Regions from separate parts of the Homo sapiens genome. Here regions 2 and 3 are each linked to region 1. Evidence: promoter capture Hi-C in human tissues and cell types (Jung and others, 2019). All regions are on one chromosome and are shown on one strand. The core of a region is centred on a gene start or on the middle of the fragment in contact, and the rest is flanking DNA. Distances in the headings are between cores, read along the strand shown. Region 1 overlaps SBNO1 (strawberry notch homolog 1). Region 2 holds the start of ATP6V0A2 (ATPase H+ transporting V0 subunit a2). Region 3 holds the start of TCTN2 (tectonic family member 2).

Region 1 (3,485 bases), core at 694-3,193:
ATCATCTTCTTTTACAACAGGAACCTTCTGCAACACAGAAAGAGCACAATCAATCCCAAATCCAGGGACCAGACGCCCAGCCAACACACAGAAAAACTCTCTTGTAGGAACACCTACAAATTTCCATCATGGAAACATGACGCGCCACCTCAATACTCCCTAAAATCTGGGCCACACTTCGTGGCTTTCCTGCTTCTCCAATAATGAGCACAGACAATGAGGTCCTACTCTGTCTCTTACCCACAAATGGGTCACAAGACTCCACGTCCTTCCGGCCACCATCGTGTCAAGCTACTTTCCCCTTCAATACTGCCTATCACCCCTCCTTGATGCCCAGAACTCTCTCTGCACTCAGACTTCGCCTTCATTCTAGTTCCAGGAGAAAGAGCAAGCAGTGTGTCTGGCTCTTCCTAGTGCAAAACTGGAGTGAACCCTAGCAAAGGTGGATTGGCCCCAAAGGACCCTGCATCACCACAAGCAAGGCCTCTCAGTCTCACATTCCACCTTCTTCTCAGTTCACTTCTATTTGCCTGCTTTCCCGCATATCCTAAAACCAAAACCCCAGAAGACTGGAGTTTATTTTAGAGGCCCTTATGAAGAACAGAAAAATTTACTTCAGACTTCTGTGTCTCCACAGATGCAATCGTGATCATATATAAGATGGCCATATAATTTATTTTCCAAACCCTGGCACATTTGAGTTGGGGAGCTATTGAGGATTACACTGAGAAAACAGAAGTAAACCCAGACTGTCCTCGGCAAACCAAGTGAATGGTCACCACGGTTATGCTTCCCTTTTCTTCCTCTACAGGATCTTAAAGGAATAAAGGAAGATCCGGAATAAGCCACTTTTCACTACCAGTACAATCATTAGGCAACTGTTTATTAGCATGCACTTGTTCAGGGAAGAATATAAAGAAACTGTTGTGAAACTCAGTATGCCAAGGGAAGAGGACAACAAAAACCTACAGGTTAAGGCAAATTAAGGCAAGATCGAGACAGCATTAAAAGTGAAGGACAGGCTCTTTTTTCATTTACCTCAGAATCTAGAGCAGAATATGGTTGCAAATAGATAACAAACGTGAAAAGGAAAAGAAGTGGGACATAACCATCCAATCAACATTAACCTATGGAGTCTTTAGATAAAATCTAAAAACTTGGAATGTTCTCAGAAATTATGCTAAAATAAAACTCAATTTCGGAAATTCGAGACAAAACAGGACTGGCCAAATGAATAGATTTGAATCCCAATTCTGCTGTTATTTAATTGTGTAGTCTGTTTTTTAATTTAGGCAAATTACCTAAATTCTGGGTCCTCTCCACCCCCACCGTCTAACCCTGTCCTCGCTTATAAAATAAAAATGTATTCTATGTTAAGATAAGCAGCCTCCTTTCTCCCTCCATCCTTTATTCTCCTACCTATAGTTTTTTAAAATCATCATAAAATTGATGATAATTGAATAACTGAAGGATAAGTTGGTAATACTGAAGGACCACTATATCCAGGGAACAAACAAGTAATACCTTGAAGCCAGGTGCATGTGAGATAGCAACTGACATCAAATTTAGGTCAAAGAGATAACTCGGGTGAGGGAGACCACGGTACCTGGGAAATGTTTGCCCAACATACCATGTAGATGTTCACTACACAACGCTGGGCAAATCTTCCTAGATGGGGAACGTGGGCCTGGGGTTGTCAGGTACTCCCATTTTTCAAAATAACCGGGAAATCAGGATTTGTATATGTCAGCAAACAAATTCAAAATTCTTCAAAATACCATGAAGGCCAAACAAAATACATTTGTCAGCCAGGCATGGTGGCTCACGCCTGTAATCCCAGCACTTGGGCAAGCAGGGGTGGGCGGATCACCTGAGGTCAGGAGTTCAAGACCAGCCTGGCCAACATGGCAAAACCCCGTCTCTACTAAAAAATACAGGCCAGGCACAGTGGCTCACGCCTGAAATCCCAGCACTTTGGGAGGCCGAGGCGGGTGAATCACGAGGTCAGGAGTTCAAGACCAGCCTGGCCAAGGTAGTGAAACCCCATCTCTATTAAAAAATACAAAAGAAAATTAGCAGGGCGTAGTGGCGGGCGCCTGTAATCCCAGCTACTTGGGAGGCTGAGGAAGAGAATTGCTTGAGCCCGGGAAGGGGAGGTTGCAGTGAGCCAAGACTGCACCAATGCACTCCAGCCTGTGACAGAGCGAGACTCCATCTCAAAATAAATAAACAAAATAAAAGAAACAAAAATTATCTGGGTGTGGTGGTGGTGGTGGGGGGCGCCTGTAATCCCAGCTGCTCAGGAGGCTGAGGCAGAAGAATCACTTGAACCTGGGAGGCAGAAGTTGCAGTGAGCTGAGATTGCACCACTGCCCTCCAGCCTGGGTGACAGCAAGACACCGTCTAAACACACACACACACACACCCCGACACACACACACACACACGCCCCCCCCCCCCTCCCCGACTAGTTTGGTTGATGGGCTATCAGTTTGCAGTCTCTCTGAGATGTTACTTAACTGCTAAGCCAATAAAAAACTTTTGGTATATAATGGACTGAAATGGAAATGTGAGAACCACATAAAACATTTCTTGAAGAAATATGCATTCTTAGTTTCCAAAAATCACCTTCCAAGTGCTGTTGGTAGACAATCACTAAGTAAACTGGGTACCGCCAGTAGCACTATTGTTCTCCTGGTTCCCATTCAAAACCTCAGCTACAGTTTGCTGCACTGTCTCCAATTCCATATTCTAGAACCAAGTCCCAAAATTCTTTTGGTATCGTTATGTACAGTCATCTCTTTTTTTCCTTTCCCCTCTCCGTTTTTCAATCCCCTCTGCAAGGTCTCTAGTACCCCTTCTTACTTCCCCCTTAGGTTAACCAACTTTCCAACCTCTCTCTTTTGCCTACTCCTACTCATCCCGAATCTGTCTTCCCTACCCCTTTACTCAGTCTGCACCCCAACTTCTCCTGAATCACTAACAGGTCCCTCCATGTCTACTGGCTCAATGGTGCTAGACTAAGTCCAAAGTCCTTCAAACTCAATTCAGCACAGGGCACCTTGGCCTCCCAGCACTTTGGGAGGCCGAGCTGGAGGGATCACTTGAGGTCAGGTATTCGAGACCAGCCTGGCCAATGTGGTAAAACCCCGTCTCTACTAAAAACACAAAAATTAGCCAGGGCTGGTGGTGGGCACCTGTAATCCCACCTACTCAGGAAGCTGAGGCAGAAGAATCGCTCGAACCTGGGAGGCGGAGATTGCAGTGAGCCAAGATTGCACCACTACACTCCAGCCTGGTCAACAGAGCAAGACTCCATCTCAAAAACAACAACAACAATAAAAACCTCAATTCAGGACCCTCCATGGAGCCCAGACCTACTATTCCCACTTCTTTCTACAAGCTAAGCTTCCTGGCTTATTTTCACCGAAGCACATACTCACTACCTCCCCTCTGTGCCCATTAATCCTTTAGCTCCCTTCCTA
Region 2 (3,485 bases), core at 405-2,904, 370 kb after region 1:
TGATCCACCTGCCTCAGCCTCCCAAAGTGCAGGGATTACAGGAGTGAGCCAGGGCACCCAGCCTAGTGTAACTAGCTTTGGATTTCAGGTATTTATGGAAAATAAATTTAAAACTTCCAAATGACAGGTAATTTAGCTTGATTTTGTGGGCTTTGTGAGGACGCCTTTTGTACTTAAAAGAAGGAAAAAACTCAGTTTGGCAGAATGGGGTCTGGAGTGTCTATGGTTTTAACTTTTTTAAGTTTATACATTTATGTATGCATTCATGAACTATTTATTGAGTGGCTACTATGTGCTGGGGCTTGGAGATACCACAGTGGCAGAAACAATGTCCCCACCTTGGTGGAGCTTCCATTCTAGCAGGGAAGACTGGCACTAACACACAGACAAGATAATTTCAGATGGTGGCAGGTGCAGTGAAGGAAATAGAACAAGGATGTGACTCCAGGGACAGTCTCAAGGAAGGGGATATGTAAGCAGAGACTCGACTGGGACAGCGGTGAGGTTGCGGCCTGGGGCGGGGGGCCACTGCTTCCCGGTCAGTGTGGGGAACACACACTGGGTGCTGTGTGATTCCATCGACAGGACAAGCCTGGAGGTGGCAAATTTAGCGAGACAAAATTGTCCTGTGGTGGCCAGGCCGGGCGGGAAGGGGAGACTGCAACTGAGCAGGAGGAGTCTTGCGAGGTCGGTGGGAAATGTTTGAAAACTGGATTGGGATGCTGGCTGCACACTCCAACTTCACGAAGAAGCCTAGGATCCCTCCGGGCGGCGGATCACGCCTGTAATCCTAGCGCTTTGGGAGGCCAAGGCGGGAGGATTGCTTGAGTTCAGGAGTTCGAGACCAGCCTGGCCAACATGATGAAACCCCTTCTCTATAAACATTTTAAAAACAAATTAGCCGGGTGTGATGGCGCGCGTCTGTAATCCCAGCTCCTCCAGAGGCTGAGGTGGGAGGATCGCTTGAGCTCAGGAGGTCAAGGTTGCAGCGAGCCGAGCTCGTGCTACTGCACTCCTCCCTGGGCCACAGAGGGAAACCCTATCCATAAAAAACCAGCAGCAGGGCCGGGCGCAGTGGTTCACGCCTGTAATCCCAGCACTGCGGAGGCCGAGGCAGGCGGATCACCTGAGCTCTGGAGTTTTGAGACCAGCCTGGCCAACATGGTGAAACCCCGTCTCTATTAAAAATACAAAAAAATTAGCTGGACGCGGGTGGCGCGCGTCTGTAGTCACAGCAACTGGGGAGTCTGAGGCTGGAGAATCGCTTGAACCTGGGAGACGGAGGTTGCAGTGAGCCGAGATCGCGCTACTGCACTCCAGCCTGTGGGACTGCGTGAGATTCCGTTTCTCTCTCTCTCTCTCTCACACACACACACACACACACACGCAGCAGCACAGGGTCGTGCACTAGGAACGGGTGAGCTTCGCGGCGTGCACACTCGGCGAGACTCCTCCAGGAAAGCCGGGGAGCCGCGCGGGATTTAGCTCTGCGTCCAGTCCGGCGGAGCGCCAGCTGCAGTGGTCGTACCCGCCGGGTTCGCGCTGGTTGGCCCTGCCGCCACGTCGTGCGGCGACAACCTCGGGCGTCCATTGGTCGGCCGGCGGGGGGGGCGGGACGCGGGGGCGGAACCGGAACCGGCAGTGGCTTGGGGGCGGGACCTCGCGGACTGCTGTGGCGGCAGCTGGAGCGGCGGCCGCGGTGGCAGAACCGGGGGCGGCCGCTGCAGTCTGGAGCCCCATAGTGCGGGGCCGCGGCCAGGCCACAGGAAGAGCTCGAGGCCCGGGCCGCACCGGCTGAGTGTGCGGGCCCGCGCGGCTCGGAGCCGCCGCCGCCCATCGAGCCCCTCCGGGCGCGGGTCGGCCCGCCATGGGGTCCCTGTTCCGGAGCGAGACCATGTGCCTGGCGCAGCTCTTCCTGCAGTCGGGCACGGCCTACGAGTGCCTCAGCGCCCTGGGCGAGAAAGGCCTGGTCCAGTTCCGAGACGTGAGTGTCGCCCGGGAGACGCGGGCCGCACCTGCTCTCCTGGCGCCCCCAATCCCGCGCATCGCTGGGGCCCTCCCGCGGGGAGCACCGAGGAAGGGCGCGCCCCGTCCCCATTGTCCAGACGGGGAAGATGACACCCCAGCTCAGCGGCCAAAGCTTCCCGGAGCGCGGGGCTGACTCCAGGGTCGCCGGCCGTCTGTGTGGTCGGCGGCTGCTCTGCCCCAGTTAGTTAGGATCGCCCGTGTGGTCTTCATCAGCTCCGGGCACCGAGCTCAGCGGGAGAACAAATCCCACAAAGGCCTCTTGGAGTCCTTTTGGAACTTTACGGGGGTTAGGGGGGCGCATTAACCAAATAAATAGGTCAACCAGAAAAGGTTTGCCATAAAGAAGAAACGGGGTGATGTGAAGGTGATTCGGGCGGGAGGTGAGTGTGAAGGGATTGTCGAGGAAGCCTCCCGGAGAAGGTGATATTTCAGCTGAGACCCAAATAGAAAGGAGCCAGCCGTGGGGAAGATCTGGGGAGAGGGTCCTTGTTGGAGGGAACAGGAGGAGCCCAGACAGAGCCAGAAATGGGAAGGAGCTGGATGTCATCTGCTTGAGGAGAGGGATTTTTGTGTTTTGGTCACTGATGCTTAATGCTGTACATACCATTGTGTGTAAGGACTTAAGAACTCAGTCATTGTTTGTCGAGTGGAAGCTGTCTCCCCAACAAGTAATAATAAACATTTGTTTGTCCATTTACTTGTTTATTGTTTGTCTCCACCAAGGACTGTCAACCTCTGAGAGTAAGTACCTTAACGCAGTCCTTGGCAGTCATTGGCATCGATAGGCATTTGTTGAATGAACAGACAAGCTTTTCTTGACTGCCCGCTATGTTCAGGCACTGTTTTTGGTGCTGGAGACTCGGTGGTGAGCAAGGCAGACACAGTCCCTGTGTTCCTGGAGCTTCCAGTGTGGGAGGAGACAGATTAAACACACTCTGATTATGAGCTGTGATAAGTGCTAAGAAGGCAAAGAACAGGGTGTGGAAGGGAGACCGTGAAGCAAGTACTTACTGACTGAATTGAAATCCACTCAGGCGAACATTTTATTTCCTGGCCACCACTTTCATCTCCTGACTGTTTCCCTTAATCTTCCTAAGGTGTCCTTAATTTCAAAAGGGATCAGCCCTACCCGAGATCTGATATCCATTGATATCAGATATCTAATACCAGATCAGCCCCATAAGGCAGTTGCAAAGTCATGGAGAGACTCCTGAGTGACAGGCGAGGGTGCAGGTAAGATGCAGGGCGGTTCCTGGTTCCTGGAGCCACTTCTGCAGTTGTACCCATTCACCTGATGGATGCTGCGCTGAGCTGTGAATAGCACCCAAAACATTCAGGCAACAGCTGCAGGTGCAGCAGGCTCCTACATTTGTAACAGGTAGATGTTTTCCTTCCGGTTAGTACTCAAGCCAAGACACTTATCACACTTCAGTCTTACAGGTTTGAGCAAACGTACT
Region 3 (3,485 bases), core at 615-3,114, 330 kb after region 1:
AGTTTGAGACCAGCCTGGGCCACATGGTGAAACCCCGTCTCTATAAAAAATACAAAAATTAGCCGGGTGTGGTGGTGTATTGCCAGTTACTTGGGAGGCTGAGGTGGGAGGATCAGCTGAGCCCAGAAGTTTGAGGATGCAGTGAGCTATGATTGTGCCACTGCACCATTCCAGCCTGGGTGACAGAGTGAGACCCTGTCTCAAAAAGAAAAAAAAAAAAGACTAATAATGGCAAACATTTACTTGGCATTTACCGTCAGTCAGCCACAATGCTGAACACCATGATTGTCTCAGCTAAAGGATACACCACCTCTCTGATAGTTAACAAGTAACTGATCATTAACTGAGTGCTTACTGTATGCCAGCCATTGGTTTAACCTCATTAGATATGTTACCTCATTTCATCCTCACACAATCCCCAAGGAAGGATTATTATCATCCCTTTTTTATAGATGAGGAAGCTGAAACTTAGAGAGGTTGACTTGCCCAAAGTCACTTAACAGCTGAGAATATCTGTGGAGGGAAGGCGAAATCCCATGCCAGGCAGCCTGACCTCAGACCCTGCACTCTCAGTCCCCAAGCCGTGACAATATTTGAAATGTTCTGAGGCTACTGATATAAGAAAAAACAATTTTTTTCCAGACAGAATTTTGATTCTTTCACATCTGTCCTATTGCTGGGCAAAACCTCTTGTGTGTTCTGTGATTGGATCTGCTTTCAGAGTGCTGAGAGCTCTGTGCAGGGGAGAAAATCCTTCAAAAACCTAGGAGAATGATAATAAAAGCAATAGTGATAATAAATGATAATGATAAGAATTATAAAAATATAAATTTTATAAAATTATAACATATAAGTATAAAATTTACAAAATATATACTTATATAAAAGATAAATATATATAAGATAAAATATAAATACATATATATTTTATAAGATAAATAAATAAATAAATATATTTTTGAGACGGAGTCTGGCTCTGTCGCCCAGGTTTGAGTGCAGTGGTGCAATCGCGGCTCACTGCAACCTCCGCCTCCCAGATTCATACAATTCTCCTGCCTCAGCCTCCTGAGTAGCTGGGATAATAGGCGCCTGCCACCACGCCTGGCTAATTTTTTGTATTTTTAGTAGAGACGGGGTTTCACCATGTTGATCAGGCTGGTCTCAGACTCCTGACATTGTGATCCGCCCGCCTCGGCCTCCCAAATTGCTGGGATTACAGGCATGAGCCGCCAGACCCGGCCTATATGTATTTTATATATATCAAGTATGTATATCTGATATATATATATAAAACAAAGTATATCTATTTTGTAAATATATATTTATTTTATAAAAATATAAAATATAAATAATACATCATAAACGATAGTAAAGATAATAAACACAGCGCGGCAGCCCCATCCCCTTTTTCTACTCACCCCTAAAACAAATCCGTATAAAAATCAAGTTTATTAAGGAGCAAGTCCCACCCTTTTTATTTAGAAGCCAGTGTCTATAGGATCGCTCTTGGCTATTGTTGGATTAATTCCAGGGTAGGGGAAAACTCCAGTTTTTGAGCCGGACACGCACTCCTGCTTTTCAGGACCTTTTTAATTTTGATGTTTTCAACTTTTAGGCCCAGGGGTCCATGTACAGGTTGCTATATAGGTAAATTGCGTGTCACGGGGGTTGGGTGCACAGATTGTTTCGTCACCCAGGTACTAAGTGGAGCACCGGATAGGTAGTTTTTCAGCCCTCACTCTCCCCACCAGAGTCAAGCAGCAAAAATGCTAGGCCTTGTGGGCGGGGCCGGGGTGCCCGCTCTTGCCACTGGTCCAATCACAGCGCGGCGTTCCTCCTGGCCGGCCGCCGATTGGTGGTTGCCATAGCTCCGGGCGTTCGCTTGCAAGATGGCGGCGGCGGGGCAGTGGCTGCTGCGTTTTCGTGTCTGAGTCCTTCCTGGGTTCTAATGAGGGCGCGGTTCTGCTGTGCCCGGCCCGCGAGGTCTAAGGCATGGGCTTCCAGCCTCCGGCCGCTCTTCTTTTGAGGCTTTTCCTTCTGCAGGGCATCCTGAGGCTTCTGTGGGGGGACCTGGGTGTGTACGGCGCGGCAGTGACCTCGGTGGGCCGGGGCTGAGGGGACTGGGCGTTAAAAGGGCCAGACTTGGACTCCCCCGGGAGCTTCGGGAGTCGACAACGCCAAAGCAAGCCGCCACACACACCTTAGGCGGTGATTCTTCCACTGCTAACCCCTCCTTGTCCCCTTTCCTTCCCGCCTAGCTTTCATCCCTCCTTTTATCCGAATGTCCGGCCCTGCGGTCAGCGCGTCCCTGGTCGGAGACACCGAGGGTGTGACCGTGTCCCTGGCAGTGCTGCAGGACGAGGCGGGTAAAGTCCGGCCCTCTTTTGGGGAGGGTGGGGGTTGGACTGGATCCAGACCTCCCAAGGAGCCTGGAGAGGTGGCATCCTTGGGGCCCCCTGCCTCTGTTCTCTGCAAAGTCGCATGGGGAGAAAAGGATCGGGCGGCTGCTGTAGGCCAAAGAGGACAGACGGACAGGTTCGAAGAAAGCCTGAAATAATAATGGTTAGCATTCATTGAGCTAACATCGTGCATCATCCCATTTTCCTAGTAAGAACAGTAATATCTTTTCATCCCCTTTGACCAAGGAAGAAACAAGTTCAGAGAGGTTGTCACTGTCCCAGTGTCAAGCAGCTTGTAAAGGGCCCAATCTTAGGCTGTAATGTGAGTCCATCCTAGGCAGTCTGACTCAATGCACCCCCTGAGCTGCTGGACCTTGCTGCCTTTGCATGCTGGTCTTCTTTCTTTAGGAATATTGCCAATTCCGACGTGTGGAGTGCTGAACAATGAGACGGAAGACTGGAGCGTGACTGTGATCCCCGGTGCGGTAAGGCCAGAAGTAAACCTTCTCTGTAGCCTGTGAAGAGGCCCCCAGCTAGGGTTTCTGCAGTGCTCTCTTTATTTAACAAGGCATGGCTTTCTCCATGCTCTCAACAATCATGAAATTGTGGGCTGTTGGATCTGGTAGACACTTATCCAGCCCACGGGTTCCTTACCCTGGGGTTAGGAGTCCTTGGATGTATTTCAGTGGGTCTGTGAACTCTATGAAATTGTATGTAAAGTTCTGTGTGTATGTGCATTTTTCTGATGAGAGGGTCACCAGTTTCCTTTAGATCATCAAATGGGTCAGTGATTCAAAAAAGCTTTATGCCAGGCATCGTGGCTCACGCCTGTACTCATAGCGCTTTGGGAGATTGAGGCGGGAGGATTGCTTGAGCCCAGGAGTTCCAGACCAGCCTGTAACATAGCGAGACCTCGTCTCTACAAAACAATTAAAAAAAAAATTAGGTGGGTGGCGTACACCTACAGTCCCAGATACTTGGAGGGGGGTGGGGTAGCTGAGGCAAGAGGATTATTTGAGCCCAGGAGTTCAGGGCTGCAGAGAGCTATGATCGCACCACTGCACTTCATCCAGCCTGGGCAACAGA

What was found. Contacts are between HindIII fragments. The study calls those that stand out against the background at their distance.
Region 2: the fragment with the promoter of ATP6V0A2 here is called in contact with a fragment that was not itself captured in region 1 in 2 of the 25 tissues and cell types used here (pancreas and small bowel).
Region 3: a contact is called between the fragment with the promoter of TCTN2 here and a fragment that was not itself captured in region 1, in 4 of the 25 tissues and cell types used here (H1 embryonic stem cells, aorta, dorsolateral prefrontal cortex and 1 more).

The regions. Positions count from the first base shown.
Region 1 is chr12:123,336,465-123,339,949 of GRCh38, forward strand. It overlaps SBNO1 (strawberry notch homolog 1), which reads right to left. Exons shown (of 32, transcript NM_001167856.3): 6 at 1-27. Among named protein-coding and RNA genes, the nearest start is that of MIR8072, 27 kb to the right of the region's middle. The HindIII fragment of the contact is 4,997 bases long and covers 1-3,485 here.
Region 2 is chr12:123,710,699-123,714,183 of GRCh38, forward strand. ATP6V0A2 (ATPase H+ transporting V0 subunit a2) reads left to right here and starts at 1,655. Exons shown (of 20, transcript NM_012463.4): 1 at 1,655-1,984. The coding sequence starts at 1,868. It overlaps LOC105370042 (a long non-coding RNA gene), which reads right to left. Exons shown (of 3, transcript XR_945477.4): 3 at 2,068-3,485. RefSeq lists a silencer at 1,480-2,029. The HindIII fragment of the contact is 14,070 bases long and covers 1-2,488 here.
Region 3 is chr12:123,669,249-123,672,733 of GRCh38, forward strand. TCTN2 (tectonic family member 2) reads left to right here and starts at 1,865. Exons shown (of 18, transcript NM_024809.5): 1 at 1,865-2,074; 2 at 2,259-2,366; 3 at 2,808-2,884. The coding sequence starts at 1,993. The HindIII fragment of the contact is 13,736 bases long and covers 1-3,485 here.